Linked DNA regions of Homo sapiens: regions 1 and 2 are each linked to region 3. Evidence: promoter capture Hi-C in 16 types of primary human blood cells and fetal thymus (Javierre and others, 2016). All regions are on one chromosome and are shown on one strand. Each heading gives the region's core, a stretch centred on a gene start or on the middle of the fragment in contact. The rest is flanking DNA. Distances are from core to core; before and after follow the strand shown.

Region 1 (3,574 bases), core at 895-3,394, 470 kb before region 3:
TGTGCAGGATATGCGGTGGTAACTTTGGATGCTGTCATTGAAGCCAAACCGTTGCCACAGGGTGTTTCAGCCCAGAAGGCTGAGCTCATTCTTTAACTCGGGCTCTAGAACTCAGTGAAGGTAAGACTGTAAACATCTACACTGACTCTCGATATGCATTTCTAACCCTCCAAGTGCATGGAGTGTGGAGCATTATATAAGGAAAAGGGCCTGTTAAACTCTGGGGGAAAGGACATAAAATATCAACAAGATATTCTACAATTATTAGAGGCAGTGTGGAAACCTCAGAAGGTGGCAGTCATGCACTGCAGGGGACACCAGTGAGCTTCCACCTCAGTGGCCTTGGGAAACTCTCGAGCTGATTCAGAAACTCGAAAAGCAGCATCTACCCCTTACCGGGCATCGGTAGCAGCCCCCTTACTCCCTCAAACACCTGACCTGGTACTACCTATTCTAAGGAAGAAAAAGACTTCTTCCATGCAGAAGGGGGGCAAGTAATAAAAGGAGGATGGAACAGACTGCCAGATGGGAGGGTAGCTGTGCTGCAGTTAATGGGAGCCACAATCGTATTGGCCATGCACGAAACCACTCATCTAGGTCAAGAGTCACTTGAAAAATTGTTAGGCCGGTACTTCTACATCTCACACTTGCCAGCCCTTGCAAAGCAGTAGCACAATGGTGCATTACTTGCCGACAGCACAATGCGAGGCAAGGCCTCACTGTTCCACCCGGCATACAAGCTTATGTACGGCTCCTTTTGAGGATCTTCAGGTGGATTTCACAGAAATGCCGAAATGTGGAGGTAACAATTATTTGCTGGTTCTTGTGTGTACTTACTCTGGGTGGGTGGAGGCTTATCCAACATCAACTGAAAAGGTCTACGAGGTAACCTGTGTGCTTCTCTGAGATCTTATTCCTGGGTTTGGACTGCCCTTATGAATCAGCTCAGAACATGGCCTGGCGTTTGTGGCTGACTTGGTACAGATTAGCCGGGTGCATTAGCAGCACCTGTATTCCCAGCTACTTGGGAGACTGAGGCATGAGGATCACTTGAGCCTGGGAGGTGGAGGTTTCAGTTAGCCCAGATTGTGCCACTGCATTCCAGCCTGGAAGATGGAACAAGACTTTGTCTCAAAAAAAATTTAATCATTGAAAAGTAAAATAATAATTGTCATCAAAATAATGTTTCTGTGTTCAAATGGGTGAAATCTCTTAATATGTTGGAAAATGTTTTAAATCCTTTATCCCCTCATCAGCAGACAAGAAGCTACAGTGGATGGAAACTCTGTAAGAATTGTGAAGAGGTCTTCAGGGAGCTGTTTTTCCTTAAGACACACATGAGAGCTCAGAATGGAGGGAACACTTTTGAGGGTAATTGTTATGGAAAAGACACCCTTAGTGTGCACAAAGAAGCCTCTATTGGACAGGAACTTTCTAAATTTAATCCATGTGGAAAAGTCTTCACCCTAACTCCAGGCCTTGCTGAACATCTTGAAGTTCTCAATGCAAGACAACCGTACAAATGTAAGGAATGTGGAAAAGGCTTTAAGTGTTTTGCAAGCCTTGATAATCACATGGGAATTCACGCTGGTGAGAAACTCTGAATTTCAGGAATGTGGGAGAACCATCACACCCTCCTCACACCTAAAGCAGTGTGTAACAGCTCATACTGGAAAGAAATTCAAAAAGACTAAGAAATATGGGAAATCCTTCACTAATTTTTCTCAACTTTCTGCACATGTGAAAACTCATAAAGAGGAGAAGTCCTTTGATTGTAAAGAATGTGGAATTTCCGTTAGAAATTCCTCATATCTTAATGATCACATTCAAACTCCAACTGGAGTAAAAACCACACAAATATACAGACTGTGGGAAAGCCTTCACTAGATCAATTCAACTTACTGAACATGTAAGAACTCACACTGGGGTAAAACCCTATGAATGTAAGGAATGTGGGAAAGCCTTCACTCAGTACACGGGCCTTGCTATACACTTACGAAGTCACAGTGGAGAGAAACCCTATCAGTGTAACAAATGTGGAAAAGCCTTCACTAGATCCTCAGGCCTTACTCAACATACAATAATTCAGATGGGAGAGAAGCCTTATGAATGTGTTGAATGTGGAAAAACCTTCATTACTTCTTCCCATCGTACTTAACATTTGAAAACTCATAGTGGAGAAAAGCCCTTTGTATGCAAGATATGTGGGAAAGCATTTATATTTTCCTCATCCCTTAATATTCACCTGCAAACTCATACTGGAGAGAAACCCTTCATATGTAAAGAATATGGGAAAGCATTTATTGTTTCCTCACACCTAGGTAGACATAAAATCATGGCTGGGCACAGTGGCTCATGCCTGTAATCCCAGCACTTTGGGAGGCCAAGGTGGGTGGATCATGAGGTCAGGAGATCTGAGACCATCCTGGCTAACACGGTGAAACCCCATCTCTACTAAAAGTACAAAAAATTTGCCAGGCATGGTGGCATGCACCTGTAGTCCCAGCTACTCAGGACGCTGAGGCAGGAGAATCCCTTGAACCTTGGAGGCAGAGGTTGCAGTGAGCCGAGATCGATTGAGCCACTGCACTCCAGCCTGGACAACAGAGTGAGACTTCATTTCAAAAAAAAGAATTCACACTGGGGAGAAACCCTATGAATATAAGGGTATGAGTGTTACCATTTAGCTCATCGGTTGCCATCTTTAATTATTGGCAGTGACACCAGAAGATTATCAGATTTGTCCTAAATGCCTTGTGAGGGTTGTAATGGCTGATGGACTGGCCTTAGATGCCATCCCAAGAGTCTGAAATTAAACCTACAGCTTCTGAATACAACTTCATGGTTGCCTGAGTCTTGGTATCTGTGAAGAAGGGTCATGGATGGTGAGGTCAGTACTGCAGGCTGCCTCACCTTGCTGATTAGATTCCTAAGATCATAGCATTAACAAGTTCTGTGTGAGATAAATCATGCAGATTGACCCCAGCCCCTGTTGGTTAGTGGCTGCCAGTGGCACATTCATGTCAAAATTTACCAGAAGCCAAGATAATGTAGGCCCCAGAGTTGGGTTGTTAAAAGATGCTCCTCCAAGAGTCTTCTCTGTTCCCAGGGATCCTGCAGATCATGGCAGGAATGAAACCATCTTTTACTGCCAGTGCACTTTCAAAGCTGATTATTTCTGTGACCGCTTCTTGTAAAATCTAAGAAGTGTGACAGCCTTGCCTGTTCTGTTCTGCCTTCTCTGTCCATTTTACATGGCACAATGTAAGTGGCAGTGTCTCTTCTAGTGTAATCCAGTCTCTCTCCTCATTTCTCTTAAGATGGCTGATATAGTCCATGAATCCCACTCATGATCTCTTTATGAGATGATTTTTCAGCCACACTTTGAGGATTCTCTTCAGTACAAGTTTTCTAATTTTTGTAGTATGAATAGGCTGAGAATTTTCCAAATCTCCAAGTTCTGGTTTCTTGTTCCTTAACAATTTATTCTGCAATTCAAGTCTCCTCTTTTGCATTTTCCTGTAAGCAGTCAGGAAGAATGAAGCTTCCTGTGTCCTTTAACACTTTAATTACA
Region 2 (3,405 bases), core at 272-2,771, 280 kb before region 3:
ACTAGCACACAAGAAAAGTCATTTGAATGTAGTCACTGTGGAAAATCCTTCATTAATGAGTCATACCTTCAGGCACATATGAGAACTCACAATGGAGAAAAACTCTACGAATGGAGGAATTATGGGCCAGGTTTTATTGACTCTACAAGCCTTTCTGTGCTTATAGAAACCCTCAATGCAAAAAAGCCCTACAAATGTAAGGAATGTGGAAAAGGCTATAGATACCCAGCCTACCTCAGTATTCACATGCGAACCCACACTGGGGAGAAACCATATGAATGTAAGGAATGTGGGAAAGCCTTCAATTATTCCAACTCATTTCAGATACATGGAAGAACTCACACTGGAGAGAAACCCTATGTATGTAAGGAATGTGGGAAAGCCTTCACTCAGTACTCGGGCCTTAGTATGCATGTACGATCTCACAGTGGAGACAAGCCCTATGAATGTAAGGAATGTGGGAAATCCTTCCTTACATCCTCACGCCTTATTCAACATATAAGAACTCACACTGGAGAGAAGCCTTTTGTATGTGTTGAATGTGGGAAAGCCTTTGCAGTTTCCTCAAATCTTAGTGGACATTTGAGAACTCACACTGAAGAGAAGGCCTGTGAGTGTAAGATATGTGGGAAAGTATTTGGGTATCCCTCATGTCTTAATAATCACATGCGAACGCACAGTGCCCAGAAACCATACACCTGTAAGGAATGTGGGAAGGCTTTTAACTATTCCACCCACCTTAAAATTCACATGCGAATCCACACTGGAGAAAAACCCTATGAGTGTAAACAATGTGGAAAGGCCTTCAGTCATTCCAGTTCATTTCAAATACATGAAAGGACTCACACTGGAGAGAAACCCTATGAATGCAAGGAGTGTGGGAAAGCCTTCACGTGTTCCAGTTCCTTTAGAATTCATGAAAAAACTCACACAGAAGAGAAACCCTATAAATGTCAGCAATGCGGGAAAGCTTACAGTCATCCCCGTTCACTTCGAAGACATGAACAAATTCACTAGTGAGAAACTGTCCATGTAATAAATGTGGGAAAGCTCTCATTTGTTCCAGTTCACTTTAAAGACATGAATGAACTCACTCTGGAGAGAAGAAGCTGCATGAAAATTACTTAATTCCTGTAATCCCAGCATTTTGAGAGGCTGAGGTGGGTGGATCACTTGAGGTCAGGAGTTTGAGACCACCCTGGCCAACATGGTGAAACCTTGTCTCTACTGAAAATACAAAAAATTTAGCCAGGTGTGGTGGGCACCTGTAATCCCAGCTACTTGGGAGGCTGAGGCAAGTGAATCACTTGAACCCAGGAAGCAGAGGTTGCAGTGAGCAGAGATCATGCCACTGCACTCCAGCCTGGGCGATGGAGTGAGACTCCATCTCAAAAAAAAAAAAAAAAGAAAATTATTTGATTAAATTGAGTCTGTTAGAGTACATCCCTAATCCAATATGATTGGTGTCCCTATAAGAAGAGAAAGACACAACTGAGACAACAAATAGAAGATGATGTGAAGTCATCAGATGATGGCCATCTGCAAGCCAAAGACAGAGCACTGGGACAGATCCTTCTATCAAAGCCACCAACCCTGCTGGCACCTTCATCTTGGGCTTCCAGAACTTTGAACAAATAAAATTCTCTTGTTTGAGCCACCCAGTCTGTGGTATTTTGTTGTGGTGGCTCTAGCAAGTGAATACAGTAAGCAATAAGCAAAAACGTTTATAGATTGTCCAAAAGCCTTAATATTCACATGCAAAGCCACACTGGAGAGAAACTATATGAATGTAAGACGTGGGAGAGCCTTCATTGAGTCTTCAGTCCTTTCTACATACAGGAGAAATCACATAGGAGAGAAATTGTATGAATGTAAGGAGCATGAAAAAGCCTGTGAATGTTCACTATATTTTAATATTCACATGCAAGTTGTCTGGTCGTAGACCATGTGAAAATAGAGGAGAAAAAAGGAAAGAAAGTTTCTTTTACTGTGAACGCAAGGAATGTGACCCCATACACCATACTGGAACTTGGAGTGGACTGAAATCCCATTAGGATTGTGGAAAAGCTTACATTAATGTTTTCTACCTTCTAGAAGGTGTAAGAAGTCGAACTGGAGAGAAGCCTTTTACCTGTAATGCATGTAGGAAGCCTTACATTAATTCCACAGAATTTTTTTTACACATGTAAAATTACCTCAGAACCCTGGGAAGGTAAGGAATATGGTATAACCTTTAAATATTTCACATGCCATAATAAGTACATGAATTCTGATAATACTGTACCGTTTCTTGAGTAGTGTTAGTACCTTATACTATCAAAATAATCCTAAATCCTCCCTCTCAGACCTTCCATCATTACTATATTTCACTTTTATGCCTATAAACACACACAAATTAGCATATGTAATCTAATACATTGTAGCTATTTTTCAGAAGTTATCAGATCAATTAAGTATTAGAAAAATAAACATTTTTATTTTACCTTCACTTCTTCCTTCTATGCTCAAAGTTGGATGTAATTCTTATACTTGATCCTCAATACTTAAAGCATTTCCCCCCCTCTGGCTTCTATGAAAATTTTTTGTTATCTTTGATATTCTGTTATTTTTAAATGATATGCCTAGGTATAGGTTTTTGGTGCTCGTCCTTCTTGGTGTTTGCTTAGCCTCCTGGATTTGCGTTTTGGTGTCTGAGTTAATTTTGAGAAATTCTGTCATTGTTTCCCTTTTTTTTTCTTTCCATCTGGTATTTCCTTTATATGTAGGATACATCTTTTGTAGTTATCCCACAGTTCTTATATCTTGTTTTTTTATTCTTCTCTTTGCTTTTCAGGTGTGGATGTTTCTGCTGATATATTCTCAAGCTCTTTAGTTGGCTGTTTCTTGGCCAATAATAAGCCTACCAAAGACATTCTTCATTTCTGTTACACTGTCTTCAATTTCTAGCATTTCTTTGTGGTTCTTAGAATTTCCATCTCTGTGTTTACACTGCCTGTCTGTTCTTGGATGCTGTCTGCTTTATCCAGTAGAACCCATGGCATATCAATCATAATTGTTTTAAATTCCCAGTCTGATAATTTCAGCAATCCTGCTATATCTGGTTCTGGTTCTTACTCTTTCTCTTTAAACTAACTTTTGCCTTTTAGTATGCTTGTAATTTTTCCTTAGCTGGACATGGCATACTGGATAAGAGGAAATGCTGTAAGCAGGCCTCTAGTAATCATGATAAGCTGTGGGGAGAGGGGCAGCATTCTATTGTCCAGGGATTAGATGTCAGTCTTGCAGTGAGTCTGTGCTTCTGCACTGTGAACTTCAGTTTTTCCCACCCTTTAGTTGGGTCAGGATGTATAGAGTTGGCTGGAGTTGGATATTTCCCTTCCTCCAGGTCACTGAAGCTCTGACTAA
Region 3 (3,683 bases), core at 836-3,335:
ATGGGGTTTCACTATGTTGTCCAGGCTGGACTCCAACTCCTGACCTCAGGCGATCTGCCCACCTCAGCCTCCCAAAGTATTGGGATTACAGGTGTGAGCCACCGCGCCCGGCCATAATGTAAATTTCTACAGTGCTGAACAATAATGCGTTTTAAGAAGATATTTGAATGAATCACGTTGCCTGGTGCTACATTCTTTTGTAACTTACCCATTGTAGCTCCGTCCCTTTAGAAACATCATCACCTGAACTATTTCTGGTGCTTTTAAAATTCCTCAACCCACACAGGTCCAAGTAAATTTTGGTAATGACACCCAGGCCTCAGTATTTGTGAGGTCCCCAGGTGATTTCAATAAAACCAAATGTGAGGACCATTGATAGACATCATCATACGTAAGCTGCCTAAAGTGATTTCCTAGATGCGATTTGGACAGAAATTACACAGGAACTGTAGAAAGGGAGGTAAATACGAAGTACGATAAGTCCTCACTTAACATCCTCCACAGAAAATTAGAAACCACAATTCAAGCAAAACGATGAACCATGAAACCAATTTATTCATTTCTCACCAAAATTAAAACTAAACAACATTGAACAAAATGAACTTATTTCAGGACCTGCTGCGCTTTTTTTTTAAAGTTGCAGTTTCCAAAAACCTCTTGACAAAGTTAAGTGAGGATTTCAAGTCTATCAGAAAAGATTGTGATTGCACCTGGATATCAAGGTCATTGCACAGATACTAAAGGAGGCTGTCTAGGTATATTGGAATCATTCATGATGTGTATGATGAACAAAGGATACCAGAATACTCACCCATTGCAATTAAAGACAAAACAAAGCAAGCAATATTCACATACGAAACCCAGAGAGGAATGAAAGCCATCAAGCAACCAAAATAATGTGACCAAGGAGGCAGAATTTGCAGGCCTAGGTGTTAAATTTTGCTGCCATTTCTATCCCATATAACAAAAAGGATGGAGATGATGAGATTTGATGATTCTGCCATGCAGCCTGCACAGGGCACTTTGAATGTCCTTGTTCCTCAGGCTGTAGATGAAGGGGTTCAGCATGGGGGTGACCACAGTGTACATCACTGAAGCCACCATACTCTTCCTGGGGGATGGTAACACAGCTGAACTGAGGTACCCTACAAGCCCTGTTCCATAAAATAAGCAAACAACTGCCAGGTGAGAGCCACAGGTGGAGAAGGCTTTATACTTCCCATCTGATGTTGGAACTCTCAGAATGGGGGAAACAATTTTATAGTAAGAGAAAAGGATCCCTGAGATAGGGAGACAGCCAAATATGGCACCCATGAAATATATGACCATTTCATTGATGAAGGTGTCGGAACACCTAAGGTGGAGGAGTTGAGAAGGGTCACAGAAGAAATTAGAAATGTCCACATCCTTGAAGCAGGTGAGCTGTAACATAATCAAATTGTGCAACTGGGAGTCCAAAAGACTAATAAAAAAAGACAACAAGATTAAGAAGCCACAGAGGCGTGGGTTCATGATGATTCGGTAGTGCAGGGGGTGACAGATGGCCACAAACCGGTCATAGGCCATCACACTCAGGAGCATGTCATCCATACATGCAAAAAGGACAAAAAAAGACATCTGAGTCAGGCAGCCTTCATAGGAGATGACTCTGCTGTGAGTTTGCATGTCCACAATCATCTTGGGGACCGTGGTGGAGGTGAAACCGATGTCAGCCAAGGACAGGTTGGAGAGGAAGAAGTACATGGGGGTGTGGAGGTGGGAGTCAGAGCTGACAGCCAGGATGATGAGCAGGTTCCCCAGCACCGTGACCAGGTACATGGACAGGAACAGCCCAGCGAGGACCGGCTGCAGTTCTGGATCCTCTGAGAGTCCCAGGAGGAGGAATTCTGAGACACCTGTGAGATTCTGTGGCTCTGTGTAGCTCGGACACCTTTTGAGGAAAAAAAAAAAGAGAATTGGAAAATAGGACATAAGTAAACCAGCATCTAGCACTGTGTCTATATTTTGGATACAAGCAATTAAGAAATTAAGTTTTCACATAGGATTATACACCCTCAGCAATAGTTCTCAGTTGTGACAAACCCAATTTCCTTAGAGTTACTTCATAATTGATTTTGTGTTATTCACCTCTTTCTGTATACACTTAACTTAGAGACAGTCTATTGAAGAATGTTAGGAGAGCAAAAACATTAGAGATTTTAGAAATCCATGATCACGGTAAAATATAGCCTAATTTATCAGGAAAAAATATACAACAAAAATATTCTTGCCCCTTTAAGAAAAAGATTAAATCCATTGAAAGGATACTAAGAAGGAGTCAGCTATGTCTTGTTTTATTCTAATACAATTCTACAAATTCCATTGATTGAGGATATTTATCAACACTCAATGAGATCTAGGATCATGTTGTCTCAAAACTCAATGAAAGTTCATAGTTCATAGCCAGAAAACATCTTTACATACCAGTTATATTCTACGGTTTCCATCATTCTTACGTTTTCTGACTTTCATTCTTCATGGAAGTAAGTACTCACTCAAATATGTGGGCTTTCTTTTAAAATTCACTTAATTATAATTCCTGTCCTTGCCTTAGGTGGACTTGGAGTTTTGATAAGAAAGTAGCCCAGGGTGGTGGCTCACACCTGGAATCCTAGCACTTTGGGAGGCCAAGGCAGGAGGATTGCTTGAGGATGTGAGTTTAAGACCGGCCTGGAAAACACAGCAAAACCCCATCTTTACAAAAAACTAAAAAATTAGACAGGCATGGTGGCGCCGCCCTGTAGTCCCAGCTACTCAGGAGGCTGAGTCAGGAGAATCGCTTGAGCCCTGGAGTTCGAGGCTGCACTGAACCATGATCATACCACCGCACTCTAGGCAGAGTGGCAGAGTGAGACCTTGACTATTAAATCAATAAGTAATTAAAAGGAAGGTTTAGTTAAATGCACATAATTACCAGGACATCACTGATAGCAAAGATGTTGATAGTGTGCAACGTACCTGTGGATGACAGAACATTAATATAATGTTAAAATGCTTTTAATTTTTTTTTTTAAGACCTGAGTCTCGAAGTTTTGAGCCTGTCACCAGGCTGGAATGCAGTGGCATGATCTCAGCTCACTGCAGCCTCCGCCTCCTGGGTTCAAGCGATTCTTATGCCTCAGCTTCCCGAGTAGCTGGGACTACAGGCGCACGCCCCACCATGCACAGCTGATTTTTGTATTTTTAGTAGAGATGGAGTTTCACCATGTTGGCCAGGCTGGTCTCAAACTTCTGACCTCAAGTAATCTGCCCACCTCTGCCTTTCAAAGTGCTGGGATTACAGGTGTGAGCCACTGTGCCTGGCCAAGGTAATGTTAAAATACTTTGGCATTACTTTCGTTGTGGCTGGAATCATGTGAAACTCTAAAATGTATCTTGATCTAAACAATAAGGTTTACCTGCCCCCACTTCCTTCTGCATCCTTTTCTCTTTTTTTATGCCTGTAAAAATCTCTGCCATGGTCTTTAAGTAATTGAATGTTGTAGATGCTATTATTATGTGTCCATAATATAGACACAAAAAAGTGCTATTTTACCTTCTGCCTAGTTTGTGACACATTCCTGGAAGGAATGAAAGTACAGATAGGAAAGCAGTGAGTGTGTTGAAGTCACACTGATCACAGCCAGTTTTGTGAACTAAGGAAG

What was found. Contacts are between HindIII fragments. The CHiCAGO score rates a contact against its expected background, and 5 or more counts as called.
Region 1: a contact is called between a fragment that was not itself captured here and the fragment with the promoter of OR7E24 in region 3, in 1 of 17 cell types (total CD4 T cells). The highest score is 5.3, in total CD4 T cells.
Region 2: a contact is called between a fragment that was not itself captured here and the fragment with the promoter of OR7E24 in region 3, in 1 of 17 cell types (naive CD8 T cells). The highest score is 5.6, in naive CD8 T cells.

The regions. Positions count from the first base shown.
Region 1 is chr19:9,722,763-9,726,336 of GRCh38, reverse strand. It overlaps the pseudogene LOC100130854. Among named protein-coding and RNA genes, the nearest start is that of ZNF846, 44 kb to the left of the region's middle. The HindIII fragment of the contact is 2,804 bases long and covers 743-3,546 here.
Region 2 is chr19:9,525,992-9,529,396 of GRCh38, reverse strand. It overlaps ZNF426 (zinc finger protein 426), which reads left to right. Exons shown (of 8, transcript NM_024106.3): 8 at 1-3,405. The coding sequence ends at 1,017. Among named protein-coding and RNA genes, the nearest start is that of ZNF426, 11 kb to the left of the region's middle. The HindIII fragment of the contact is 1,097 bases long and covers 973-2,069 here.
Region 3 is chr19:9,249,332-9,253,014 of GRCh38, reverse strand. It overlaps OR7E24 (olfactory receptor family 7 subfamily E member 24), which reads right to left and starts at 2,085. Exons shown (of 1, transcript NM_001079935.2): 1 at 390-2,085. The coding sequence starts at 1,971. The coding sequence ends at 952. The HindIII fragment of the contact is 19,830 bases long and covers 1-3,683 here.